Regions from separate parts of the Homo sapiens genome. Here regions 2, 3, 4 and 5 are each linked to region 1. The links are contacts of gene promoters, found by promoter capture Hi-C in blood cells and fetal thymus (Javierre and others, 2016). All regions are on one chromosome and are shown on one strand. The core of a region is centred on a gene start or on the middle of the fragment in contact, and the rest is flanking DNA. Distances in the headings are between cores, read along the strand shown. Region 1 holds the start of PRPF39 (pre-mRNA processing factor 39). Region 2 overlaps MIS18BP1 (MIS18 binding protein 1). Region 3 overlaps FANCM (FA complementation group M). Region 4 overlaps TOGARAM1 (TOG array regulator of axonemal microtubules 1). Region 5 overlaps FANCM (FA complementation group M).

Evidence for each region. The method cuts DNA at HindIII sites, captures the fragments that hold promoters and counts their contacts. A CHiCAGO score of 5 or more calls a contact.
Region 2: a contact is called between a fragment that was not itself captured here and the fragment with the promoter of PRPF39 in region 1, in 2 of 17 cell types (monocytes and total CD4 T cells). The highest score is 5.9, in monocytes.
Region 3: a contact is called between a fragment that was not itself captured here and the fragment with the promoter of PRPF39 in region 1, in 2 of 17 cell types (monocytes and total CD8 T cells). The highest score is 7.9, in monocytes.
Region 4: a contact is called between a fragment that was not itself captured here and the fragment with the promoter of PRPF39 in region 1, in 5 of 17 cell types (activated CD4 T cells, total CD4 T cells, naive B cells and 2 more). The highest score is 7.4, in activated CD4 T cells.
Region 5: a contact is called between a fragment that was not itself captured here and the fragment with the promoter of PRPF39 in region 1, in 9 of 17 cell types (monocytes, total B cells, total CD8 T cells and 6 more). The highest score is 8.7, in monocytes.

Annotation. Positions count from the first base shown.
Region 1 is chr14:45,081,317-45,087,396 of GRCh38, reverse strand. PRPF39 (pre-mRNA processing factor 39) reads right to left here and starts at 3,281. Exons shown (of 14, transcript NM_017922.4): 1 at 3,148-3,281. PRPF39-DT (PRPF39 divergent transcript) reads left to right here and starts at 3,371. Exons shown (of 2, transcript NR_184211.1): 1 at 3,371-3,925; 2 at 4,010-4,349. RefSeq lists a silencer at 3,287-3,576. The HindIII fragment of the contact is 5,294 bases long and covers 1-3,603 here.
Region 2 is chr14:45,201,431-45,207,510 of GRCh38, reverse strand. MIS18BP1 (MIS18 binding protein 1) reads left to right here. Exons shown (of 17, transcript NM_018353.5): 15 at 1,341-1,428; 16 at 3,058-3,112; 17 at 3,299-4,321. The coding sequence ends at 3,402. Among named protein-coding and RNA genes, the nearest start is that of MIS18BP1, 49 kb to the left of the region's middle. The HindIII fragment of the contact is 8,070 bases long and covers 1-6,080 here.
Region 3 is chr14:45,183,801-45,188,589 of GRCh38, reverse strand. FANCM (FA complementation group M) reads right to left here. Exons shown (of 23, transcript NM_020937.4): 17 at 4,688-4,789; 18 at 3,217-3,373; 19 at 703-809. Among named protein-coding and RNA genes, the nearest start is that of FANCM, 50 kb to the right of the region's middle. The HindIII fragment of the contact is 4,311 bases long and covers 1,384-4,789 here.
Region 4 is chr14:45,009,947-45,016,026 of GRCh38, reverse strand. It overlaps TOGARAM1 (TOG array regulator of axonemal microtubules 1), which reads right to left. Exons shown (of 20, transcript NM_001308120.2): 7 at 3,952-4,052. Among named protein-coding and RNA genes, the nearest start is that of TOGARAM1, 51 kb to the right of the region's middle. The HindIII fragment of the contact is 9,107 bases long and covers 1-6,080 here.
Region 5 is chr14:45,152,068-45,158,147 of GRCh38, reverse strand. It overlaps FANCM (FA complementation group M), which reads right to left. Exons shown (of 23, transcript NM_020937.4): 6 at 4,096-4,228; 7 at 3,326-3,451; 8 at 2,689-2,775. Among named protein-coding and RNA genes, the nearest start is that of FANCM, 19 kb to the right of the region's middle. The HindIII fragment of the contact is 4,947 bases long and covers 716-5,662 here.

The DNA.
Region 1 (6,080 bases), core at 2,032-4,531:
ACCCATGCAGTGGCTCAAACCTGTAATCCCAGCACTTTGGAAGTCGAGGTGAGAGGACTGCTTGAGTCCAGGAGTTCGAGACCAGTCTGGGCAACATAGGGAAATGCTGTCTCTACAAAAAAATTTAAAAATTAGCTGGGTGTGGTGGCACGCACCTGTAGTCCCAGCAACTTGGGAAGCTGAGGCAGGAGGATCACCCAAGCCCCAGGAGGTGGAGGTTGCAGTGGGCTGACCATGTCAGTGCACTTCAACCTGGGCGACAGAGCGAAATAATACACCTTAAAAAATTAACTATCCCCTTCTTTCCATTCACACTACTAGTGTTATAATTTAAGTATTTATTTTCTCCCCTCTGGATCAATGTTTTCAAATGCAGATTGCTTCAAACCAGTTTCTCATTTTTTAAATGTAGAAAAACAGATATACCACAGTGAATGCACACATTAAGGGCACACTGTTGAAGCACACACAATTGAACTGTTTATTGAGTTAGTGATGTCCATGTACATCTTATTGTGGGCTGCAGTAAAAAAAAAAAAAAAAAAAAAAACTGAGAAACACTGCTGCACTACTGCAAACTAATATTACTCGAATATTAAATTTCCTGATCACAGCTCAACAAGAGTAAAAGGAAAAAAAAATTAAATTGGGTGAGAATGAGGCCTTATCAGTTTTGTTCACCGCTGTCCCCCTTGAACCTGAAATAATACTTGCCGTGTAACAGCACAACAAATATCTCTGAATGATATATCCAGTCTCAACTTAACTTTCCAAAAGTATTAATCTTACAATACTCCTCCTCATTGCCATTTCCAGAGTCCCTTAGATTTTTCCTTTCTGAGCCTTGACAAAAGCTGTTCCCCCAGACTAATAAAAGTCCTCCCTTTTTCAACTCACCAAACCAGTCGATTCCTTTTCACTACATTACACTTTATTATAAAATCATATGATAGGCACAAAGGACACAAGTATAAAATGAAACATAACATAAAGTGAATAGGCAATATATAAAAAATACATTTATCATACCTTTCACTTTTAGTATAATTATGACGTACATTAAGTATTTCAGTGACAATTATGCCATCTTAAAATTTAAAAGGTCTTTTGGAGGATGACTTCAATTACTAACACTTAATTAAAAATGGGACATTTGGGCCGGGCACGGTGGCTCATGCCTGTCATCTCAGCACTTTGGGAGGCCGAGGCAGGCAGATCACCTGAAGTCAGGAGTTCTAGACCAGCCTGGCTAACATGGTGAAACCCCGTTTCTACTAAAAATACAAAAAATTAGGCGTGGTGGCGCGCATCTGTAATCCCAGCTACTGGGGAGGCTGAGGCAGAAGAATGACTTGAACCCGGGAGGCGGAGGTTGCGGTGAGCCAATAGCGCCATTGCACTCCAGCCTGGGCAACGAGAGTGAAATGCCATCTTTTGACCTAATACCTTTTTTTTTTTTTCTGTATGCCTCTTATTCCTGTAGAGGTACTTAAAAATTATACCATTGACTATTCTTTTTCATAAACACAGCAATATATAAAAATCTGAAGTCATCACTAAAGACTGAAAGGAGTTTTGGGTAGAGCAAAACAAGTAGCTTTGCAATAAGCAAATCTCATCCACAAGGCAATCTGGAGATTTGGGATGTAAGAAGAAAAGAGACTATCATAACCACTGGTTTTGGCAGCTGTTTTTAAGGGCTAAGTAGTCACACGCCGACTTTTTAAAGTCTCTACATATTAAACACTGTGTTCCAGAAACTAGATTTTGTATATGTATTTACATAAACGTCTACATCAATCTTCGGCTTTTTGGAAAACGTACCATTTGGCTGGAACTACACTACCTTCTTCCTCCTTCGGCTATTTTTAATTTTTTTTGAAGTCCTATCTTCCATGTAGATTTGTTAAAACATACCACAGAAAACAGCACATACAATTTTTATCATTTGACTTTTAAACATCTTCTTTCTTATTCAATTATAAGCAAGGAAAAATATTCTGAGACTTTACACAAATAGTGTCTCATACCACCTATGAGCCATCTATGCTCAACCCCTACTTCAAAGTTCACAATCTAAGTACTAGTCCTCTTTAACAGAACTCCTTTCCATCACTTTATCCCTACTAGAGAGTGAACAGTGGAAAGTTCCAACTTTTGCAACTCTAGAATGAGGTTATAAATCTAGAGGGAGGAGGAAAACCTGACAGTAGACGCTTGTTCTTTTCACTCCATTCAAGCTCCCATACAGCCTAAAACACTTAAGTTTCAACATGAGCTTCATACGTCCCTGTCCAAAACTTGCTTTCTCAAGCCTCACGCTTTCCAGCTGTAGCAAAGTTTATTTCTGAACAGATTAAATCAGTTGCTAAATAATCTGAAGTCCTCAAACAGAAGGCCATATGAGTATCAAACGAAAAAAACAACATTTGAATCAGCATAAATTCACATGGTATTATGGCATCATTACTAATACACTGAGCAGTATTATTTATTAACTTCAAGTATTAATTAACTTAAAGATGTGATTTTGGAGAAAAACACCAGTGGTGGTCTCTGATTACCAAAGTTAAACATTCTTAAGCACAATCCCTTAAAAAATCCTGCCAGGATCAATGATGTGTTTTTTCTGTTTTAAAGTATCCTGCCAAAAGCTGTGGGTGCTGTGACTTAGGGTCGCAAAAGTGTTGCTTATGTAGTCAGAAGACAGAACGTGCCCTACAAGGCGCTCACATGCCTTAGTAATAGAACGTATATTATCTTCCCAATCCTCTGGCGGCTGCAAATGTGCTCCTTCCACTTCCAGCCACCCCAGCCGTGTTCCAGCTCCGGGAGAAGCAAGGGCTTTAGAATTACCCCCAAATATCTTCCTAAATCCAGGCGAAGGAGGCCCACACTTCTCCACCCTACCTAACGCACCCCTCAAGTGAAACGTTTGGTCTAAGAAAAAAATACCTTGCACCGCTCCACCCAACAGGTGGGAAGGAGAAAGGAATGGACAGCTGAGCGCTGAATCCGAGCCAGGCCTCAAACAGGGCGGGAGAGGGAGGCCGCGGCCAGAGCGCGGCCTGAAACCCGGCAGGCCCCTTTCAGTACCAAGTACCACCCTCTGCCCCAGCTAATTTCAAGGAGCCCGCCCCAGCAGACCTTATGATGGATGCCACTTGATGCCATGAGCCGGAGCCTGTGACGACCTAGCCGAAGATGGCACTTCACCGCCTCCGTCCCCACAGCCAGCACAGCAGCCGCCACCCGCGCCACGGCCGCCTGGTCCAGGGCACGATGCGCATGCGTCAGTGTCCCTGGAGGCGAAAAAGTCACGTGGGTTCGCAGCGCGCAGGCCTGGCCCTCCCAGGGATCCTCGCTGCCCGTGCGGCCCCAGCCCCGCCCCCGCAGCCCCGCCCCGCCCCGCCGCGAGCGAGGGCGGGGACCGCTGCGCCTACCTGCCTTTCCCTCCATAGGGACTTCCCAAAGGAAAGGAGGGCGTTTAGGGGCTTTCACACGCCTGATCTTAAACACAGCGCCCTGACCCCTCCCCACCAAAAACGGCAAAATGTCATTTTTGGGGGCAAATCTAAGGTTTTCCCTACAATTGTTCAAGCTTTCACACTAAAACATTTACCTAAAAACGGGCAGAAATTCAGCCTTAAACCCACAAATCTCACGATGGTATAGACCCTGGGCCCACTCAGGTTTCCTGAAAACTAAACAGTTCTGGAGTTAGGGGTTTGGAGAACGGGCTATTGTTAAAGAAAAAAGTATTTAGTGACACTTGTTAAAGCACAAAAAGAGGGCTTTATTCAGGACCATCGCAACAGGTATAGGGACCACTGACTGCAATGGAGACTTGCAGTAGGGAAAGAGATATTGGGCTCAACTCCTCATACAGCATGGGCAAGTGGAGATTTATAGCCAAGGAGCGGTGGTAAGTGAATGTATAATTACTAAGAGGAAACATCAGGGTAAGGGGGATTTTGGCTAAACCCACCTAATAGGATTTTTGCTGAAGACAGGCCAAGATAATGAGGCATCACCTGGGGGATGGTGGAGACTGAAGAACCTGATCAGATATTGAGGATGATCAGCTATCAAGGATGGGGGTTTATTGCTAATCTGACTTAGCAAAGTTCTTTGCTTAAACTGGATTTTACAAAGAAAGTGTACAGAAGAGCCTAGCAGAAGATTCAGAAACCTGACTAAAGTTGGCCAAGCAAAAAAAAAAATCTTTGTATCTGAAGGGATATGTTATCCTCTGGACAAATTGAGGGGGACTGTGCGTTAACAATCTTAGCAGTCCTCTTCAGTTGTACCACCATCTCCACTTTAATAAAAAAAAATTTTCTTTCAAATCTGGCCTCTCTCCCTTTAAGATTCTGTTACATTGGTGCCCCCGCATTCACCTGTCACTTACCATGTAATCTGTTGTTCCAGGTGCATTAGTATTACTACTGGGCTCCAAGTTCCTCATCTGAAATCTGTCTCCTCTGGAAATACTTATTTACAAGACGACGTTTCTTGTCACAACGCAGGTTAATCATAAATCCTCTCACCAGCACCTTTCGTTCGAAATACCAAATTCAGTCTTTTTTCCTACCTTTTACTTGCATCACACTGCACCTAGTAGTAGCTTTCCCTTTCCATTTGCCTCTTCTACTTTCCAAGCTAACTTTTTTGGATTCTCTGACAGTGTGGCCATGTTTTTTGTTTGTTTGTTTCACAGGTTTAAACAGCAGCTTTTAAATGTTTACTGTGGGAAGAATAGTCAAGGGAGTGGTGCGTTGGGAAGACAGACCAGAGTTTGCTGCTGGCACTGTTACGCAGGGACTGTTTGGCATGACCTTCACTCCTTTTCTGGTTCTTTGGTCTTTCTAAGGTGGCCTCAATTTCTTTATCAGTAAATAAGATTATCTCTGAGATGTCATTCACTCAAATAGCCATTTTATAAAAATCTACTTGCATCTTCAACTTCATTCACTGTGGATTCGTTGTTTTCCTTTATCTAGTTTTTACATTTTACCTTTCAAGCCGGTGCTATTGCTCTCACTCCCCCGCTTAAAAACCTCCACTGGTTTCCTCCTCCACTTTTTTTTTTTTTTTAAAGAAATCCTAAACTTTTAGAATGGAAAATACGGTGTTTTCATAATCATGCCAGCCTTCTCACTGTTTCTGCCTCCCCGTAACTCCACAGAACCTACTGTTCCCACAGCCCTTTTATGCGTGGAAACCTTTAAGTGGGCTCTTCTCTTTGCCTAAAATGTGATCCCCGCTGGCAGAAACATACATTATCTTAAAAACTGATTTAGCCGGCAGGGCGTGGTGGCTCATGCCTGTAATCCCAGCGCACTTTGGGAGGTCGAGGCGGGGAGATCATGAGGTCAGTAGTTCGAGACCAGCATGACCAACATGGTGAAACCCCATCTCTACTAAAAATACAAAAATTAGCTGGGTGTGGTGGCGCACGCCTGTAATCCCAGCTACTCAGGAGGCTGAGGGAGGAGAATTAATTGAACCCGGGAGGCAGAGGTTGGAGTGAGCCAAGATGGTGCCACTGCACTCCAGCCTGGGAGACAGAGTGAGACTCCATCTCAAAACAAAAACAAAAGACAAAAAAAAAAAAAATTGATTTACCCTTAGTTGACTTTTTTAAAATTGTGTATCACAATTATAAACTTTGGGAAGAAAAAAGATATTATACCAAATAATGTAGTTTAGAGGGTAGTGGTGTGTCCAGAATTGGTGGGTTCTTGGTCTCACTGACTTCAAGAATGAAGCCGCGGACCCTCGCGGTGAGTGTTGCAGCTCTTAAGGTGGCGTGTCTGGACTTGTTCATTCCTCCCGGTGGGCCCGTGGTCTCGCTGGCTTCAGGAGTGAGGCTGCACACCTTTGCAGTGAGTATTACAGCTCATAAAAGCAGTGTGGACCCAAAGAGTGAGCAGTAGCAAGATTTATTGCAAAGAGCAAAAGAACAAAGCTTCCACAGTGTGGAAGGGGACCCAATCAGGTTGCCACTACTGGCCCAGGCGACCTGCTTTTTATTCTCTTATCTGGCCACACCCACATCCTGCTGATTGGTAGAGCCA
Region 2 (6,080 bases), core at 1,487-3,986, 120 kb before region 1:
CCTGGCTAATTTTTGTATTTTTAGCAGAGATGGGGTTTCACCATGTTGGCCAGGCTGGTCTTGAACTCCTGACTTCAGGTAATCCGCCAGCCTCAGCCTCCCAAAGTGCTGGGATCACACCTGTTCATTTGTTAAGCAATTTGCTAAAAACTGACGAGGTTTATTCATTGCTATACAGCAGTGTTTGATTCAGATAAATATCTTAATAGAGTCACATTTCTTCATGTCATGCCTTTAAGGTTGTTCCCAAATAGTCATAAAGAACAGAGGATACTCAGGTATGTAAGATCTTAGAGCCAAGAGAGAGTATGGAAATGGATGTTCAGCTGGTATTTACTGTCATAAGTGGGATTAGGAATTGTGGGTTTAGGGAATTAAAAACAACCAACAATTCTACTTGGCTTTTAATCTCTTCAGTTATGAGTGAAGCATATTTGCTTGTAAGGGAAGAGATAAGGTAAAGGAAATGAAATAAAGAAAAAAAATTTGGTGGTTGGTATGGGGAATTCAAGAAAGATAAAATTTTGTAGAAATAAAAGGCTTGATGAGCTGGATTAGAAACCCAGCACAGTTGGAAAAATTGACAGTTTTCAATCACCAGGCATATCTTTAAAGTGAATAAACTGAGATTCAATTAGGACAGGGAAGGAAGTGAACAGGAGAGATAATGGTATAGCAAAAGGGAGTCCAAGGAGAAGAAGTCTCAGTGGGAGTTTTGGAAAACCAAGAGAGGCAGCAAGATACCGGAAAGAGCGTAGACGGTACAATGAACGGTAAGCAAAGCATAATTTCCCAAAATAGTCTTGATCAGTATTTCCTGTAAAATGTTTGATTTAAGCATTTTGTCCATCTCCATAGGCACATTTTATTGTCCTCTTTAAAATACAGAATGTACTTTTTAAAGATGGAAATACGTTTGAGGTCAGGCGTGGTGGCTCACGACTGTCATCCCAACACTTTGGGAGGCCCAGGAGGGCAGATTGCTTGATGAGCTCAGTAGTTTGAAACCAGCCTGGGCAATGTGGTGAAACCCTGTCTCTTAAGAAAAATACAAAGATTAGCCAGGCATGATGGCACGTGCCTGTAGTCCAAGCTACTTGGGAGGCTGAGTTGGGAGGATCACTTGAGCCCAGGAGGTTGAGGCTGCAGTGAGCCATTATCATGTTACTGCACTCCAGCCTGGGCGACAGAGTGAGACCCTGTTTCAAAAAAAGAAATACATTTGAAATTAATTTAGGCAATTGTTGTTCAACCTGTGGTTAAAAGTATGACAGTTAACTTAAAATTATTAGGTTGACTTAAAAATATTGTTGACTTAAAATTATTTCGTATTCAAACAGGAATGACTGTGATAAATATGTTTTTCGTATGCAAAAATATCATAAAAGTAATGGTGGTATTGTCTGGGGCAACATCAAGAAAAAATTAGTAAGTATTTTTCTTTATCCAATACATATCTATGAAACAACTTTAATATGTGATAAACTGTGGTAGTTGTAAGTCATGTAACAGTCCCTGTCCCTGAGGTGATTATAATGTAACAAGTTACAATAATGAAGCCATGAATGAGGTAAGCACATAAGTACTGTAGGATTACAGATGGCATCACATTGACTGAAACATTGGAGCAAGGGGAAAATGGCTAAAAACTTTGATTTTTGGGAAATGAAGGGTGGGAAAAATATACACAGAGGTCTGGGAAGGATATTTCAGGCAAAACACAAAAACACAAAACACAAAAACAATCCTGTTCAAGGATTGAAGAATAATTCAGACTGAGTCACAATTCTCATAAAGTAAGAAATTTCATCAAATTCTATGTAGCTTTAAAATGGCTTCAGGTGTTTTTCAGATTTAGCTACTTAATTTTATTTTTTTACTTTTTATTTTTTTACATTCTAACATTTAAAATCCAACTACAGAAAAATTTTTAACTGAAAGATGCCTTAATAGAATGATCTATATCCCTTAGAGAAAAGATTAGGACAGTCCTTTATCCCCTTGAATTACTTTTTAAATTTTTAATTTTCTGATTTTAATTGCAATAACTGATTATCATATATAAGTACTAGGATTCTGGAAAAAGTATTTCATCTCAAATTTCCTCTAAGTAGCTAATCTTCGAGAATGGTAACTTATGGGAACCCCCTTGATTCCCTTGCTTTATGACACTGAGCAAGTTACTTGAGCTTTCTAATACCATTTTATTCATGTGTGGTATGACAATGGGGATCATGATTATATTGATTTATGTTACCAAATGATTTTGAGGTCTAAATGATATAATGCAGTGTTTTACCTCATCTCAGAAAAAAATACATTTATATCACAGTCTGTGAGCATGAATTTGTATCTCAAAAATTTCTTAAAACAGTACTTACTCTAAGGGCTACTATATTTTCTGTTCTGTTACTTTTTATTTTTAAAAGATTTTTAAGGATTGCCAGCCATGGCCAATAGTTTGATAAGCATTGTAATGTGTGTGAGCATGTACTTCAAACTTGCCATTTACTTTACCATTTTAGCCAAGAATTTCAAGTACAGAGAATTAAAATTCTGCTGGTATAAAACATTGTACTGTTATAATAACAGACTGTAGGTAAAAGTAATACAGTAATTAGTATTCTGTATAGTAATTACTATACTGTAATAGTACAGTATAGTATTGTAATTATAATTACTATATATAATCATGATAAATTGTGTTTATATTTTAAGTTTACCAAACCAGTATATTCATTACTTAATTACTTAGCACATTTTGGCAACTTTTGGAGGCCCATAGACTATCCTTTAACTGCTATAGCATTAGTTTATAATAATTTCTTAGAGGAGTGTTTGCCAGCACTGGGAAACAACATTGAGTAAGTCATGGTTCTTGCCCTGGATAAACCCAAAAGAGAATTATGCATTTCACAGATAATTATAATGTGATTAAATGTTGTTATAGGCATATGTTCAAAGTAATCTGGGGATAAGCATGCTTAATTTTGTCTAGATTTGAGGTAGACTTCACCAGGAGGTACCATTTAGCTATTAATAGTAACTCTTTTATAGGTTGAAACTGATTTCTCAACTCCAACACCAAGAAGGAAAACCCCATTTAACACAGGTAATACACTTACAGCTTTCTTTTGTGGCTCAGTTCTATTATAAGGTAGGTTCTTTATTTAAATGGTATTAAAATTAATTGCTCTCAAGTGGACAGACTTAGCATTTTATTCCTTATAGTTGTTTTCAGTTTTATTGAAAGTACTTTTAGAAATTTATTATCTTTTTATTAAACTTCTCTTTACAGACTTAGGAGAAAACTCTGGTATTGGAAAACTTTTCACTAATGCTGTGGAATCTTTAGATGAAGAAGAGAAAGATTATTATTTTTCGAACTCTGATTCTGCATAGTAAAATGAGAAAATATGATTCCTGGGATTTTTACCATAAAGCAGACAGTGTTTGTATTTTCAACTGGAGTACATGTATTTTCTTTGTAAAGTAGCTTCCTATGAAAATGTGGACTTTTTTGAAGGTTTCATATGTTTGTGTTCAAAGTAAAATATCCTCATTGCTGCAGCTTACTAAAAATGTAAAGAAAATTGTTTTTGCTCGTGTAGATATCTGTAAATTTGTTTTTGCATATTAAAATATATATAGATAATTTTTTAATAAGCATCCAAGTCTGTTTACTTTAAGAAAACCATTTCCCAAACAGATTTTTTTTTATTTCAAGAAAATTTTGCTACCATTTAAGTAAGAGAAGGTGAGAAGGATGACAGAGGTTGTATTGGTAGCTATTGAATTCATGAAAACTTTTAAGTTAGCATTTGTTAGCAGTTATTATCCAAGCCAGAGTAGGATTTGTTACCAGTTGTTATCCAAACCTAATGTTTAAATTACACATTGTTGAAATTAAATTACACATTGTTGACATGCTTCTCTCCTGATTGTTTTTATTTTAAACTTGTGATAGGCATATCTATGAAACCTTTGTAAATTTAGTTTATTGCTTTACCATTATTTTACTAGGTAAAATTAGAGAACAGATTTTGTTCTCTAATTTTTAAGCCTTATTTACATATGCAGAAACAGCTTAAATATTTTGACTAGATTAGACAAACAGTTAATAGATCCACCATTAGGAATCAATATATTATGTCATAATAAACATCCTTTTTCTTTCACTGAAATTTCTTTTAGAAATAAACTTATTTTTGCTTGTTATGTTTTGAAACTTGACATAGGATATTTTCCCTCTGGCTACACATTCACCTACCCTTGTTCTCTATTTAGATTATTCAAATAAAGTTAGTTTGCTTTTATAGTATTTGTTTCTTGTTTTTTGTTTGTTACTAATTACTGGATGATAGAAATAAAAACAAATCATGACTGGTCCTGTTTAAGTTTCCTCAAAAAAAAAAAAAATGATTAATAACATTTTCTTGTTTCTTAAGTGTTTTAGTCAGAGCAGGCATGGTGTCATGTATCTGTAGTCTCAACTACCTGGGAGGCTGAGGAAGGAGGATAGCTTGAGCCCAGGAGTTCAAGGCTGAACTGTGCTATGATCATGCCTGCAACTGGCCACTGCACCCTAGCCTGGGTAACAGAGACTCCTTTTAAAATAAATAAATAAATAAAATAAAATAGTAATAATCAGCAGTTATATAATTATAGGACTTACGGAAACACTGTAAAAAGAACAGTGCAATTGGACTAAGATAATTCTTTCTTTAAACTACCATGATTATTTCTGCCATAAAGACCCTTGGTGGATATAGAATGGATCAAAAGAAAGGGTTATTTTGGAGTGGCCAAAAAAAATGCCGTTGCAGAACTTGAGTTGCCAATATTTGATCTAATGCTATACTGCTTGAAGTTAATGGATAGTGTTTTAGGAGTTAAGAAAGTGGTTAAATCCCTTAACAAAAAGTAAAAAGGTAATTGAAATGGCATAAACTTGAGTTTGACCCCTACTGCCCATATATCCGTATCAGAACTTCAGCGCCTTCCCTATACTAAGGTATCTCACCGGCCAGGTACCTGGCTTGTCCTATTTCTATCAGGTCATAAGATGAACTAATGATAAGGTTTAAGGTAAGTAACCCCCAAAGGAAACTTAAAAGTGGAAAAGAAAAAAGACCTTAAGGACTTAAATAATAAGATGGATAATGAATGGTTAATGGCTACCAATGAGGATATAGGAGGAGGCTATTGCAAGCCTAAATATGGATAGAGCTCTCCATACAGCAAGCATAAATAAATGAAATCCTCTAGGTTATGTCTGTAACACCATGTTAATTTATGTACTTTTTTTTGTCTGACGGGTGCACACACAGCTGAGTCTGAGCAGGTGGTGGTATCTCTGTGTGAGGTTGTTGAGGGACTGCATGATTCTGGCATGCAGCTGGGGCAAAGCACCACCAGATGTCCCTACCCACAGGCCCTGCTGACAATGTGGCAGGAGCAAGATACATGAAGATGTAGCACAGTGGAACCACAAAGAGGCTCCTTTCCTCCTGTCACAGCTTAGCATTGTGCTCACTACTAAAGGAGAAATACTCAAAAAGTCCAGTTATAATAAACTGATAACTGCACACTAGGCAATAACTTAGTGTTTCCTCTCTGTGGTTTTGACAGAATTATTGAGCAGCATACATAAGTCAGCTGCTTTCATACAAATTGAGAGTTGATACTATCTCAAAGGAGCTAAACAATTAGAGTAACTTTTTTGTCCCCTTTTATCAACACCATAGAGTGAAAGAGAATGATACCTAGTTTGTGAGTTCTGCTTCTAGATTTGCCAGTCTAAACTTGAATAAGTCACTTGTTTCTGGGCATCACTTTTATCATTTGGTAAGAAAGGAAAGAGAAGTGATTTGAATTACATGAGCTCTGAAGTCCCCGCCAGATTTAAGGTGAGGAGAGCTCTGCAGTGAGGCTGGTTCAACTACCCAACAATGTAATAGGGGTAAAAATGAGGCCGAGAATAAAGGACTCACATAATTCAAGGCTGCTTTAGTACTAGACTGACTAGAAGAAAGATGTCATATATATTGCAGATACAAGAAAAGCCTTCTTTTTTGGTT
Region 3 (4,789 bases), core at 2,290-4,789, 100 kb before region 1:
TTAAGGGCTAATAACAGGTAGGTAGAAAGTAAACAATAATAATAGATGATAAATGCTATATAATAAGCACAATGGAAGTACAGAGAGTACACATTACCAAGCTGAACATGGCAATTTATAAACAAACACAACTAATATGAAAATGTTATCCATAAGTGACATAACCTATAATTTTCAGCATTTAACATTTTTATGAAAAAAAATGAATTTTGATCAACCAAGGACAAAAAAGGAATCTTTTTTACTTTTTGAGATGGAGTTTTGCTCTTGTCGCCCAGGCTGGAGTGCAATGGTGCAATCTTGGCTCATTGCAACCTCTGCCTCCCGGGTTCAAGCAATTCTCCTGCCTCAGCCTCCCAAGTAGCTGGGATTACAGGCATGTGCCACCATGCCTGGCTAATTTTTGTATTATTAGCAGAGATGGGGTTTCACCATGTTGGCCAGGCTGGTCTTGAACTCCTGACCTCCGGTGATCTACCAGCATCGGCCTCCCAAAGTGCTGGGATTACAGGCGTGAGCCACCGCACATGGCCAAAAAGGGATCTTGAGAATCCATTTAGTCGAGCTTCCTGACTTTGGGCAGAAATGATCTCAAATAGCTCTGACAGCCCAGTTTTAGAAACAAAATGGAGGCTTCACTAACAGGAACATATTTCAACATCATCATCCAGAAATTCTCCATTATATTTCTATAGTTCATACCTGCGAGAAAATGTTTATGTTTTTATGTGTCTTATGAATCATTTTGTACTTATTGTTCATCATTGGACTACGCAAAGATTTCATGTAAATAGCTCTCATTTCAGAATCTGTGTAAAGATAAGAATTTAGATAAATTAGCAAAATTATTTAAATGAAAACCAGTAAAGTATTTAACTTCAATCTATTTCAAATTTACTTGATTCAAACCTTGTGCAAATATTTTACACAAAGACAATAAATATTAAAAGATATCTATAAACAATTATTCAAAAATATAAAGTTAGGAGTTTAGCCTTTGAAATCAGATTTTCTAGTTGAGTGATCATGGACAACTTAAGTTCCCTGCTTTATCTATCTCTCTGAAAATGAGGATTAAAATGGTGACTTTTCTTTCAAAACAAAGGTATACAAAGACCTTAAAACTGTACCAGATTTATAGAAGTTTCAAAAAAAATAAGAAATCTAGCCAGAAAAGCAAATATGCACTAAAAACATTAAAACCCACAGCCAATAAAAAGTATATTTCATAATTTTCAGTTAAGCAAAACCTGGGAAACACATTGGTTTTTTTTTATGGCTAGCATTTTTAAAAGTTATAATATAATGAAAGGTACTTGAGACATGATACATAAAAACAAAAGATAATGTGAATTTCGAGGTACTTTAAAAAAAAAAAAAGCTTTGAAATTGTACATAGTTCAAACATACTGTGTCTAAAATGGAATTTCAAACCTCTATAATCACCATCTAAATTGCTTCATCTGCAGCCTTCCCAATAACATAACAGCAAATATGTCCTTCTTGTTGCTCAAGCCTACTGACTCCTCCTTTTTTTCTAATCCATTGGAAAATCCTGTCAGCTTTATGTATCCAGAATCCAATCTTTCTCACTCTCCTCAGTGCTACTATCTTGGTAGAAGCCACTAGCATTCCTTGATTGGAGGACCTCAACAGTCTCCTAACTGGTCTCAGTCTACCTCTGTTCCCCTATAGGCCATTCTCAACACAGAAGCTGGAGAGATTCTACTAAATTATGTCAGATTATGATCTGGCTGCTAGTTCTCTGATCTTCCTACTACCTTCCCTTTTCCCTCATTCCAGTCACAACACTATTCCTTCAACAGGCCAGGCACACTACTGACTCGGGGCCTTTGCACTGGCTGTTGTCTTTGCATCAACATTCTTCCACTGGATTATATTGTAAACCTGCAAAACACTTCTGTTAATGAACATCAAGGACATAAAACCTTATCCTGCAAATTATACAAATTATATCAGCATTAAGGACAGTACTGAGAACATTGCCTTTTAAACACTTTTTTCTTAAAAGTCACGAACTTTGAGAAACTTTGTCACTTTAAATAATATCAGAGACTGCAAAAGCAGAATAAATGATGAGATCTGTGAAAGATTAGAATACTGAAGAGATATAGTCAGAATATTTCTCACTTCTGTTACAGCCAATCTGAACCATCTCCTCTAAATATATTGTATGTAAGATCCGTTCAAGCATTGGATGAACACACTGTTTTCTGAAAGTAAACTGCCCTTACATGGCAAATTTAATAAATTTAGCTTTGTATTGCAGTTGGTCTTAACAATCTACATCACTAAATCTCTCTTCTTCTAGTCTCTGATGATGTCACCTTCTCAATGAGGCCTCTTCCTAACTGCCTTATTTAAAATAACAGCTAGGCAGAGTGCAGTGGCTCACAGCTATAGACCCAGTACTTTGAGAGGCCAAGGTGAGAGGATTGCTTGAGGCCTGGAGTTGGAGACCAACCTGGGCAACATAGTGAGATTACATCTCTACAAAAGGCCAAAAAAATTAACTGGTCATGGTGGCACATGCCTGTAGTCCTATAGGAGGCTAAAGCAGGAGAATCTCCCGAGCCTAGGAGTTCAAGGCTGCAGTGAACTATGACTGCGCCACTGCACCCTACTCTGGGCAACAGAGTAAGACTCTGTCTCTAAAAAAATAAAACTAAAAAATAATACAATAAAATGGCAACTTGTCTGTTATTTATACCCTCAACCCCAGTTACTCCAAATTTTTCTCATCTTGGCCAACTTTTTTATTTTTCTGTAACTCTTTATCTTACAATAAACTAAATAATTTAGTTAGTATATATATTGTCTGTCTCTTTCCATTTGAATGTAGGCTTCATAAGAAGAAATTTTTTGTCTATTTTGTTCATTCATATATGGTTCTTAAATGCCTTACATAGTACTAGGCATGTAGCGGGCAATAAACACTTGTGAAATGAACATTTCACACTTGAGCAACCCAGGTCAATCTGAAGAGAAATATTCAAATTAGCAGAAGCCTATGAACAATCAGTCTAAAATAAAGCAAGTATTAAAGAATTTGAATGAAAATGACCAAATAAATATTTTGCACGTACCACATTTAATTACCTTTAAGGTCTAGTTTCATTAAAAACTGATTAAAATATTTAAATATAAGCACATAAAAACATTGAAAAAAATTTTAAGGATCATTATAACATTTACCATTTATAGCCTGTGAAAGTTGAGTTTCATCATTTAAAAAGTCAAGTAATGAGGAATCTTGTTCATTTTCTGACTCATCATTTTCATCTGATGAAACATATTCTGCATCTTCTTCAGAAAGTTCTGCTTCATCATCTAAAAACTTCCTAGCTACATGCTAAGTAAGACAAATTAGAAAACATGAAGATATCAGTGAGAAAATAATTTTCTTTCATGATTGGAAATAATTCTGGAAAACTGATTTCTTATCAATGCTTTTAAGATTAATAAAATAATAAAAACAAAATTTCTAGGCCCAGTGCAGTGATGCATGTCTGTAATCCCAGCACTATGGGAGGCCGAAGCAGGTGGATCACCTGAGGTCAGGAGTTCAAGGCCAGCCTGACTAACATGGTGAAACCCCATCTTTACAAAATACAAAAAAAAAAAAAAATTGGCAGGGTGTGGTGGCGCATGCCTGTAATCCCAGCTACTCGGGAAGCTGAGGCAGGAGAATCACTTGAACCTGGGAGGTGAAGGTTGCAGTGAGCTGAGATGGTGCCACTGCACTCCAGTCTGTGGCAGTAACAGCGAAACTCTGTCTAAAAAAAAAAAAAAGAAAATCCCAAGAAGAAATGATAAAGTTACCTATCTATTTAAAAATTCTGATAATTCTGTCATAAAATAAAGTAAAAGTTGGTATATTTGCTTGATCTTTTTTTTTTTTTTTTTTTGAGACAGAGTCTCACTTTGTTGCCCAGGCGGGAGTGCAGTGGCGCAATCTTGGCTCACTGCAACCTCCGCTTCCTGGTTCAAGAGATTTTCCTGCCTCAGCCTCCCGAGTAGCTGGGATTACAGGCATGTGCCATCACGCCCAGCTAATTTTTGTATTTTTAGTAGAGACAGGGTTTCACCATGTTGGCCAGGCTGGTCTCAAACTCCTGATCTCAGGTGATCCACCTGGCTCAGCCTCCCAAAGTGCTGGGATTACAGGCGTGAGCCACCGCGCCCAGCCTGCTTGATGTTTCTTAATAAGCATAAAATTTCCTGAGTCTTTCCAGCTCTTTCAAGAAAATTACTGCACCACAAAAGAACTTAATCAGAAAGGAAAGGTACTGAGAACATTTTCCAAGTATTTGAAAATTGGATACAAATAAGAAAAACAATATAATGATCATAAAAGCAAACATCTTAAAACTCAAATTTCTAATTCTATATTTTCTTCAATTTGAAACATAAATTCTCAATACACTTGAGTTTTTTGGTATTCATTCAAAGTAACACAACACTGCAAGATAAAGCATCAAAACACAAAGATAAACAAAAAAAAACTACTTTGAATTTAATTCCAGTAAAAAAAATCTAAATGGGTGTCAAAATACTTAATTTTTTTCTATAAAGAGAATGTATAGAGAAATCTACATTGATGTAAAACCAATTATCTTTACTGATAAAATGCATACATATTTAAAGAAACTAAAAAAAAGATTACCTTTAAGTGACTCTGTCTCTTTGGGACTTTGATGCCTCTTCTGGCATTCCCGTTACAAACCTTGAAGTCTTCTAATTGTGAACATGGTTTGGGAAAATTCTC
Region 4 (6,080 bases), core at 1,758-4,257, 71 kb after region 1:
AAGAGATAGCTATTTCCCCATTTCTCTCTTTTCTCCTATTCCCATGAAAAACGAAAAAACTGAAAACTGAGAATACTCAGTAATTTTTCTTTATTGGTATGCTTAGGGAAGATTCTGATTTAGAGATATTAAATCTTAAAAGTTAACTCACCATGAAATTTAACCTTCTGTACTGGCTTCACTGATGAGGCAGTAAACTACATAGGGATAAAGAGCTCAGTATCTGGAATCATGCTTCCTGGCTTTAAATTACAGCACTGCCACTCAAACTGCTGAGAAGACCTGGACAAGTCACTCAACCTTATTTGTAAAATAGAGATAATAGTACCTCTTCTACATCTGTTGTTAGGATTAAATGAAGAAAATGCATATAAAGGGCTCCGCACAGTGCCTAACACATTTTAAGTACCCAAATGTTATTATATCCGTAATTTAAAAAAAAAAAAAAGCAAAACCCTAATGTAGGTCTCCTTCTAATGAATAACAAAAATTTTAATTTACATTTGAATGTTTAAACTCATCACTCTTTATGAATACTCTGCAGCTATTACAACCATAAAACATATACTAAATGCAAAATCTAGGCATTATATATTTGAGTCATTGTCCATTTTTATATATACTTCCAATGTAAACTATTAAGCAATAATGATGTGTGTATATATGTATAAATATATTTATTTATTTATTTATTTATTTATTTATTTATTTATTTATTTTTTGAGATAGGCTCTTGCTCTGTCATCCAGGCTGGAATACATTGGCACTATCTTGGCTCTCTGCAGCTTCAACCTCCTGGGCTCTCCTGATTCTCCTGCCTCAGCCTCCTGAATAGCTGGGACTACAGGCGCACGCCACCATTCTCCGCTACTTTTTAATTTTTTTGATAGAGATTAGGTTTTGCTATGTTGCTCAGGCTGGTCCCAAACTCTCGGGCTCAAGTGATTCACCTGCCTCAGCCTCCCAAAGTGCTGGGATTAGAGGTGTGAGCCACTGTGCCCAGTGAAATAGACTTTTAAAAAATAATGTTGTATTTGAATAAAAACAGGAAGGTAGGAAGAGGAGGTAGCTGGGGCAACAAGCTAGAAAGGACTGTAGAATAAAGGGCACTAAGTAAGTTCACAGAGAAAAGTTTCAAGAATATCCAATATTAAATCATAGAGAATTTGTAGAAAACACAGATTATCTTTATAAATTCTGTCTTGATAGTTAATTCATAAAATAAGACTCATAAACATACTGGCTTTGGGTGGAAATGTTTTCTATTAATAGGCAACACTAATCTAATATACTAGAAGAAGTTTACTGTAATATCATTCAGAAAATTTAGCACAATTTGCTTTAATAGGTAGTGGCAGAACATAGGTGGAATTTTAAAATAATTGTTATTTTTGTGTTTATCATCCAATAGTCTTTATTCTGAGCGTTATCATTTTTATGTTTTACCAATTAAGCCACAATAAATTTGTAGGAATCACTTGTTTACTGAAAACAAAGCAAACCCAAATATATAAAATCCGAAACATTAGCAACTTATTTTGAGAAAAGGTTAAATTTAATATAATGAATTCAATAATAGTAGTATTTCTAAAACTTGATCCTAGAAATACCTAATTTACTTATTAAAAATACAGATTTCTAACCAGAAAGATGAATTCATGAGGCATGAGATGAGGCCCCAGAATTAACAGATGTTACATGCACTCAAGGGTGATTCCTAAAATTAGGCAACTTTGTTGGGAGGCCGAGGTGGGTGGATCATGACCATCCTGGCTAACATGGTGAAATCCTGTCTCTACTAAAAACACAAAAAATTAGCCAGGCGTAGTGGCAGGCGCCTGTAGTCCCAGCTACCTGGGAGGCTGAGGAAGGAAAATGGCATGAACCTGGGAGGCGGAGCTTGCAGTGAGCTGAGATTACGCCACTGCACTCTAGCCTCAGCGACAGAGCGAGACTCTTGTCTCAAAAAAAAAAAAAAAAAAAGATTACGCAACTTTGGAAAACACTAAATATTGCATATATAAGTATGTATTATACTATTATGAGATCACTCTGCTAAAACTTAAATGACTCCCAAGGTCACACGACTAGGGTCACAAGGGAACTCAAATCCAGGTTTTTAAAATCTATTATTTTCCATTTCCAAAGATACTCTTCCAAAAGTGGGTTCCATTTTTACAAAGTAGATACAATCTAGTAATCAGATGTCTCTTCAATTTTACAGAAATACTTGAAAAATTATAGATTAGGATGATCAGCCTGAAAAAGGATTAAGGATAAGTTTATGTATTTCTTTGGGTCACTCTCTCCCCTTAGAGGACAAATACATATTGAGTGCCTACTATGCACTAGTTGCTTTATATATGTCATGAACTTAGATTTTCACTACCCTTCTCAAGGTTTATGTTGTCAGATGAGGGAACTAAGTTCCAAAGCAGTTAAGTAAGTTGTGTAATGTATGAATACTATTATTAAACATCAAACTGGGGTGTCAGCTCATCTTTTGGACTCCAAAGCACTTATATACTGTCTTTGTATGCCTAGAAGTGCAGCTATCTCTTTGTTAACACTAGTTTTATGCAAGGCAGTATACTAAACACACCTGGTTAAGTCACACATTCCCGATTATGATAAGCCTTGATAGGTAATCAGTGGGAAATAATCTTTGGGGATCAAGAATCTGAGAGTTAAAGAAAAGTAAAGCAATTGTAGTATCATTATAAAAGGTGTCAGTGCAAGATGTAATGGTATAACAAAAGAGGTAATAATCTTGTTTGTGAATTAAGGAAGGCTTCCCAGAGAAAGCAACTGAGCTCTTTTCACAGCTAAATAGGGTGTGGTATGGATTCTAGATTTCATCCAGAAAAAACAGTATGTGCATTTGCAAAGAGATAGGAAATGGTACTGATGGTGGTCTGATTTAACTGGATACAAACAGGGAAAGTACAAGATACAAAGAGGGCAGTGAAAAATGAGGCTGGAGAGGTAGGCTGGGACCAGATCATGAAAGCATGTCCAGAATGAATTCAGGCTGGCCAGTATAGTCAGATTTGCACTGTGGGGAACAGTTTCAAAGTAAGTGAGATTGAAGCAGGGAGAAAATTTAGGCGGCTAAGTAGGTAATAAATGAGGAAAAGTGTGAACTAAAGCCATGGTAGTGGGGATTACAAAGAGGGGTTGAGATTAAGACACATTTAAGAGCAAGAAATTTAAAATCTTAGCAAATAATCAAATACATATACAGTTTTTTAGGAAGGTGATTATAATATAAAGCAGCTTAAAGTTGTTAGGACTTTTACATTAGATCATGTGAAACTAAACATCATATACCAATTTGTTACAGTTTATTCACAATTCAACGTAGTTTTACTAATCATAATGAAGAATCACATGCAGTTCTCACCCTAAATAGATCATAGTGCAAATCTTTTTCTAATTGACTACTAATTACTAAATCTATTTTCTGAGAAGTGATGTTATAAAACTAAAGACTTACAGGTTAGTTCACAAAAATTCTTAACACAAGATACACATGAATTTAACTACTATTAACAGTTAATATTGTTTTTAAAGAAAATTGTCTTTCGGGATGTCCAGTGGTTCCCAAACTATGCTGCACATTAGAATCATCTGAGGAGTTTTCAAAATTCTGACAGCCAACACCAGCTAAATAACACTCCACACCAACTACATAAAAAATCTAGGTGTAGGAGCCAGCCATAGGTATGCCAATTGAGCTTTAAAAGAGATTGATGATTCAGGTAAATAAATATTTTTTTCTTCCAAAACAATATCATATTCCTGTCAAAAGGACCTTTTAAGGAGTAAAAAAATGATTAGTCTTAACCAGTATGCACAACAACATGAAATCTGAAATGCACTTGCTATCATTTTTTACATCATTTGAAAATCATATTTTATAAATTATTTTTATAAACAGACATAGAATACCTGCACTGGGGCTTTGTTCAGCAATATGAGAAATTTTTTTCTTTGCAGAAGAAAGTCTTGTTGGACAAGGTTTTGACCCAAATGTTGGAAATATGTCTGACCTGCAATGAAACAAAGTAATTTCAATAAACATTAAGATTTAGTGCTGTTCAATACTCACATCACATATTGTCTATTCTCCTTATTAACTCACAGACCTTTTAGATAATAAGGGAGCAATAAGTATGACACTTGAAAAACTATGGCTAACAGTGTGTGTGTATACACACACACACACACACACACACACATATATATTTTGCTATTCTTAGTTCACCTTTTGGACTACCAACCTTTTTAACATATGGCCAATTCTTAATTACTCAAGACAGGATTGCCACAGAAAATGACTCTGACTTATACTGTATAATCCCTAAGGAAAAAAAAAAATGATCCAAGAATCCATTCTAAAACCAAATCAAGGCCAAGTGTGGTGACTCATGCCTGTAATCCTAGCATTTTGGGAGGCCAAGACAGGAGGATCACTTGAGCCCAGGAAGTTCAAGGCCAGCCTGGGCACCATCGCAAAACTCCATCTCTACAAAAAAACTAAAAAATTAACCAGGCATGGCGGTGCACACCTGTAGTCCCAGCTACTACAGAGGCCGAGGTGGGAGGATCACCTGAGCCCAGGAGGCAGGGGTTGCAGTGAGCTGAGATTGAACTACTACACTCCAGCCTGAGTGACACAGTGAGACCTTGTCTCAAAAAAATGAAAATAAATATAACAAGTCAAATCATTCTTAATTATCTAACTACTACCTATCCTTATATATGATAACACAAAAATACAGACTTGGCTATATTATAAGTAAGAGATCAGCAATGAGTAAGTTTGGTAAATGCCACTTTCTGCTTAGACTATTCTTTCCTGTACTTTCCTGACATTATAAATACCTATAGGCCTTTTTTCATTAAGAAAGCCAACTGAAGAATGTTAAATCTGAGCTTAAGGGAACTGTTTTAAATCAGTAAGTGTTACAATGTCAGTAAGTTAGTAATGAATATTAAAAAGAATAGATTTTACAAAGAAGTACAATTCTCAGTAAATGGAGAGAAATATATTTGTCAGTGGACCTAGTGAGAAATCAGTGTTAAATATTTTGAAAGAGCAATTTCTCTATAACAGATTATTATGAATCTACATTTATATTAAGTGTAGTTGACTTGGATGAAAGAAGAAATTTCAGTCTCTAGGAGGGTGGTTTTCAACAATTTTTCCTCCCCAACCCACCTAAGGACAAAATCTTTAAATCAGGTAGTAGTAGTGGCTTTCTTTGGCCATGAATCTTAAGGCAGTATGCAAGCTGGATAAGAATAATTGTTCTAAAGCCACTAATCTTAAATGTGGAAATCTTAAATTCATTAAAGGCATTTCAGTCCATAAATGAGGGTGTGCTGAACTACCTTCTAACAGAATTCAGTATCTGAAGAGAATAACTCAGTGAGAAAATACAGGACATCATGTATCCAAATCATATAAAATGAAATTTTCTTCTTAAGTAGGTTTCAAATTATTTACACAACCTTGCAACTGTAGGATTATAGAACATAAATTTTCATCTTCATGGAAGATCATAAAAGGACTTTAGCTCTAAAAGCTAAAAATATATTTTGTGTCTTATAACATTATGTAAACACCAGACCATGCTGTCATTCCAAATTCATTTTGCTAATATACCTATTATTCTACCTAGGTAATTACAACAAAGGAACTGTTGGAAGATAAAACTTCCAAGTACAAAACAAGCTGCTAAAAATGTATAGGAAAAAATAAGGGGCTGAAACAAACTTCTAAGAATGGAACACAAAAATTCAGTTTAATTCTATGAACTGCTGGAATAAAACATTATGATCTATTTAGAACACTACCTCTCCTTTGATTATGCAATCTCTATTTACGTATATTTCTTAGAAGTTCCAATTCACTAAAGTGAAATTAATTTTAATTTTAAATATTTACTTCTGGTTCAGGATTAAATCAAAGGAAAAAAAATTTAAGAATGACACCACCAAATGTTAGCAAGAATGTGAAACAAGGATAACTCTCACACATAGCTGGTAGGAGTGTAAAAGTTACACAATCATTT
Region 5 (6,080 bases), core at 1,940-4,439, 71 kb before region 1:
TGGCTCACTACAGCTTCGACCTCTTGGGCTCAGGTGATCCTCCCACCTCATGCTCTGAGTAGCTGGGACTACAGGCTCATGCCACCATGCCCAGCTACATTTTAAAATTTTTTTGTAGAGACGGGGTTTTGCCATGTTGCCAAGGCTGGTCTCGAACTCCTGGGCTGAAGAGATCTGCCCACCTCAGCCTCCCAAAGTGCTGGGATTACAGGCATGAGCCACGACATCCAACCTCTACTGATTTTTATTATCTTAATCATCATATGTGTTCCAAGGACCGCACTACGCATTTTATGTATGTTAACTCATTTAATCTTCACAACTCCTCTAAGGAATAAATGACTTATTAAATATAAAGTTAATTTACAATACAAAAACAAAACGTAGGACTTGAAGAAGCAGCTGTTCCAAGTAAAATTATTCTAAACAAACTTCTTTTGAATCATCATTGCATCAAGCATCAAGTCTCTGTATGTGACCAGCTCCTGAATGAATTGCTACTTTCATCACAAAACCTGTATCTCCTTCAATCTGTCACAGCCTGCCTTTTTACCCTCATTCCACTAAAGCTCCTTTCAGCAAAATCATCAATAACTTCCATACTGCCAAGTTCAATCGACACTTTTTAGTTTAACACACTTTCCTCTTTCCTTCTGAAATAGTCTCTTTCTTCAGCTTCTCTAACATTTTACTTGTCCAGTTTCCTCCCCAAGCTTTTTTTCCTCCAAACTCTTAACTGTTGATATTCTTCAGGACTCCATTCTGGACCCTCCTCTGTATATCTCTAAACTGTTGTCCTGATAATCACATCTATTCCTGAAACTTTAAATATTACCTTTATGCTGATAACTCCAAAATGTATTCACATATATGTAAATATGTAAAAACAGCAGCAATCATTCTTCTGAGATCCAGATTTGGTTATCTAATGCCTACTTGACACTTAGGTGTCTCAAAAACATCTTAACATGTTTGCTCTTTCTTTTGTTATTCTTTTTTTTAATTGACAAATAAAAGTTGTATATATTTATGTTGTACAATATGTTTTGAGATGTCTATATACATTGTGAAATGGCTAAATCAAGCTAATTAACATACATATTACCTCACATACTTATCTCTATTCTTCATTTTTCACTTTGCTCATGTAATCATTTGCAAACATGTACACATAAATGTATATACCCAGCCATATGATTCCTTTTTTCCTTTTTTTTTTTTTTTTTTTTTTGAGACAGAGTCTCACTCTTTTGCCAGGCTGCAGTGCAGTGGCGCAATCTTGGCTTACCGCAACCTCCGTCTCCCAGGTTCAAGAGATTCTCCTGCCTCAGCCTCCCGAGTAGCTGAGACTACAGGCACATACCACCACACTCAGCTAATTTTTGTATTTTTAGTAGAGACGGGGTTTCACCATGTTGGCCAGGATGGTTTTGATTTCTTGACCTCGTGATCTGCCCACCTCGGCCTCTCACAGTGCTGGGATTACAGGTGTGAGCCACTGCACCTGGCCAATTCCCTTTTTCTTATACCATACGTCTAATCCATCAACAAATACAATAAATAAGTTGGCTCCAATTTGAACATATATCTAGAATCTATCTCCCAGCACCTTGACCACTATTGCCTTGATGAACACCACTATTATGTGTCATCATCCAAGACTATCGTAATACTTTTCTAGGTTATCAATGTCTATGCTCCACAAAACTACCAGAGTGATCCTTAAAATGTCATGTCATTCCACTGCTACAAATACCTCTGTTTGGTTTTGCAAAGCACAAATATTCAGAAATTAAAAACTAAAGTCTGATATTATCTGCATACCTCTCATCTATACCACTTGTAGGCTCAGTCATACTTGTAGCCTCAATCTAACCACACTGGTCTGTTTAATCACACCAAGCACCCTACTGCCACCTCAAGGCCTTTGAATCTGCTATTTTTACTGCTTGGAATTATCTCTCCCCCAGCCTCCAAAACTCACAAGGCTTCCTCCCTTATCTCCATCATCACTTTAAATATCCCTCTACAGAGAAGTCTTCTATAACCATGCTATATAAAACAGCACTCCTCTATAACTCTCTCTCTCCTAATCTACTTTACTCTTTTACTGGTACTATATATTGTTTTACTCTCCACTTCCCTTATATTACCCCATGCTAACTTATATAGTACCTTATTCTTAACATTCCCACCACCACCCTTGCCCTAGCCCTTCCAAAATTTCTCACAGCTTTTTAGTATTCATTATCCAGAGTTAATTAAAAGCCCACCTTCTCCATAAGAAATGTTAGAATAAACTAATAGGTTGAAGGTTTTTCTTTGTTTGTTTTATTTTCGAGATTATTTATTTCAAGTTTTGCTCTTATAGCCCAGGCTGGAGTGCAATGGCACAATCTCGGCTCACTGCAACCTTCACCTCCCAGGTTCAAGCGATTCTCCTACCTCAGCCTCCCAAGTAGCTGGGATTACAAGCATGTGCCACCATGCCTGGCTAATTTTTGCATTTTTAGTAGAGACGGGGTTTTACCATGTTGGTCAGGCTGGTCTTGAACTCCTGACCTCCCGTGATCCTCGGCCTCCCAAAGTGCTGGGATTACAGGTGTGAACCACTGCACCCAGCCATAAGTAAAGTTTTACCTCTTGCAATAACTTTGTCTTGCCTTAAAGCTACTAAATATGACCTACCATTCCATGACTTGAAGTGTTCAATTACAACTTCTTCTAATTTCTTTAACTTTGGATGACTATAAACAAATTTTTTATTTTTATCTCCTGGAACAAAACAAAAATATCAAAATTTTTTTCTGTTTTTTTCCATATTCAATTACACTAATGTATATGAAAGTTATCTTTTCCAATGCATATGTTGGATTTTTTTTTAATTTTTAAAAAACTTAAACCAGAGGTAACATCTAGGTAGCACGTAAGTCTTACTGTAAAATGAACTTTGAACTTTCATAAAAATTTCATTCTGAGAGAACCTAAAGAGGAATCAGTAGCAAAGAAAGCAAAAATACATATCTAACTATAAATCAGGTTTTGATAGTTCTGAGAATTTTTACTACCACTAACAATTACCAACATCTGTTATATGTTTAAAGTTTGTAAACTTGTTTGAAGAAGTTTAAACATTGTTTAAAGCATATAAACTTTAAATTTGAATATATATTAATCTTAAAAAATGAAATATTTACACATTTAACAGATCTGTTGCTACAAAATATAAATAATTGTAGACATTTGCATCAAAGGAGCAAAATTTCAAAATTAACTGTGATTAAGAAACACAACACAATACATAATTTTAAAAGAAAAACCAGACCTTGTTGGATAGCAGAAATACCATTTGCTGAAGTACTACGTGTACGTGCAAACATACACTCTAGATGATTATAGAGTTTCATGAAGTCTTCATTTCGGCCAAGTTCATTTTTTGACCGTGTCATCCCTTCAGAAATTAAGAAAAGGTTTTCAAATAAATAATAATAAAACTGATAAAATGTATTATTTATTAAAAAGAAATTAAACTTTAGCAATGAATGTAAGTTTTTCAAGTGTAAACATGAAAACCAGAAACTTTTTGCAGTTCTACATTCATATATGTATTAATGAATGGTTTCCTTTTCTCCAGGAATTTATTAAAAACAAAGAAACATGGCCATTTGTTAATTATTCCAATGCTTTTTAAAATAAATCATTTTTAAGTAATCCAAACTCTTTAATATGTCTTTTTTTTTTTTTTTTTTAAGACAGTCTCACTCTGTTGCCCAGGCTGAAGTGCAGCAGCATGATCTTGACTCAAGGCAACCTCTGCCTCTCGGGTTCAAGCGATTCTCCCGCCTCAGTCTCCTGAGTAGCTGGGATTACAGGCGTGCACCATCATACCCAGCTAATTTTTGTATTTTTATTAGAGACAGGGTTTCACCATGTTGGCCAGGCTGGTCTTGAACTCCTGACCTCAAGTGATCCACCCACCTCGGCTTCCCAAAGTGCTGGGATTACAGAAATGAGCCACTGTGCCCAGCCCTTCAATATGTCTTTAGCCAAAATAATACATGTCATTATTTCTTTAAATAATTTGATATAATTTACCTTTAGTTCCATCCATAATTCCACAAAGGAAGAAATATAATGATCTCATTCCCATTTGCTGCAATAATTCATAACCATGATATAAACTAATACAAATAGCAAACTCTCCCTCGATTATGCCTTGTTGTATTCCCTAGAAAAACAGCATATGTCAAATTTAACCAGAGAAATAAATGAACATACATGCTCCATGCCCAAGTTGTCAGGCCATAGTCAGTGTAACATTTATAATATAATCCAAATGATCATAATCATCATTCCCTTCTACACTGCTATAACCGATTGGTTATTAAATGTCATCTTATAGGATGTTGCTATGGAAAGGTACCAATGTATTTTGTATGTAAAATCTGCCCCTTTATTTCTTTTTCTTTAATTAAACAGGAAACTTACATTTTAAAAATAATAAGTAAAGGAAAAAAAAATTATATTGTTTTTCTTTACAGGTAAATTAATTGGCAGTATATAGATATATTTGTTCTTTCAAAACTATATAGTAAGCATCTACTACCTGTCAAGCACTGAGCTAGATACAATGGAAATGGGAAATAAGTTAGATATGGCCTATCCTCATGAATGTTACTGGCAAAAGTACAAATATTTAATCAGACTGTTTTAATGCCAACCTTTAATACCAAGTATACGTCCTGTGAAAATATCTGACACTGAGCCCCAGAAACTATTCTAAGCACATTACTTGCACAATTCACTTAATCTTAGTATCTAGCAGGTAGCTATGTTATGCTCATTTTATAGATGAGGAAGCTCATACAAATGTTAAGTAGCAGAACCACTATTTAGACCCAGGAATTTTGGCTAAGAGGCCTTGTGCTTTCAACCACTACTCTCATGGAAAAATGAAGGACACATTCCTTTATGGAAGTACATGGTATGTGTATCTATCTGATAAGATAGTTTTTAAGGAGAGCATGGAGAACATATTCTAATTATTTTCCTTTGAGATGAAGACTACTGTTTTCTAACATTTTTAGTAGCACTTAACATCAATGTTAGTGATTTTAAATATTCCAGGATACTAACAAATGCCCTAAAATGGTACCCTAATTACCTCTCACCAGTTCCAGTTAAGATCTAGTTCAACAGGTTTAGATTTACTATTTCCTAGCAGAAATCAAAACATCTTTTTAAAGTTTTAAATAATAATATACTATAATTTTGCAGAAAAGACTCCTTTAGTGCTTCCCCAGATACTATATGATAAAGACCACATTTCGTGGTATAATAGTTAAAGTTACTCTCATGTAGTCACAACCTATATTATCATATCCGGTTTCGTGGTATAATACTTAAAGCTACTCTCATGTAGTACAACCTATATTATCATATCCAGTTTCCAAATCCTCAGCCAAATTGGTCTGCTCACTGTCTCCCACATGCTTTAATTCAATTGCCTCTGTTCTTTTGCACAGGCATTCCCTATCAGTTCAAAGATCGACTCGGTGCCCTTTTTTGTGTCTATGAGTGTCTTCTCTGACTTTGGACCTAGTTTGATAGATATTTTTTTATCCATTTATTTTTTTCCAATGCAGGTTAGAAATAAGAAGCTTGCTGTGATGCTTCCTTCAAACTCTGGTATTGAGAGTAAGAATAAATGTTCTGTGTCTAAAATTCAGTTACAATCTACCTTCTCATGGCTTTGAGACTTTACAAAATAAATAGACTAAAAGACAAATTCTTCTTAAAAGTTAAAAAGAAAGGTTGGGCACTGTGGCTCACATCTGTAATCTTTGGGATTACACTCTGGGAGGCCGAGACAGGCAGATCACCTGAGGTCAGGAGGTCGAGACCAGCCCGGCCAACATGATGAAACCCTCTCTCTACTAAAAAATACAAAAATTAGCCAGGCGTGGTGATGCGTGCCTGTAGTCCCAGCTACTAGGGAGGCTGAGGCACAAGACTTGCTTGAACCTGAGAGGCAGAGGTTACAGTGAGCCAAGGTCACACCACTGCACACCGGCTTGGGC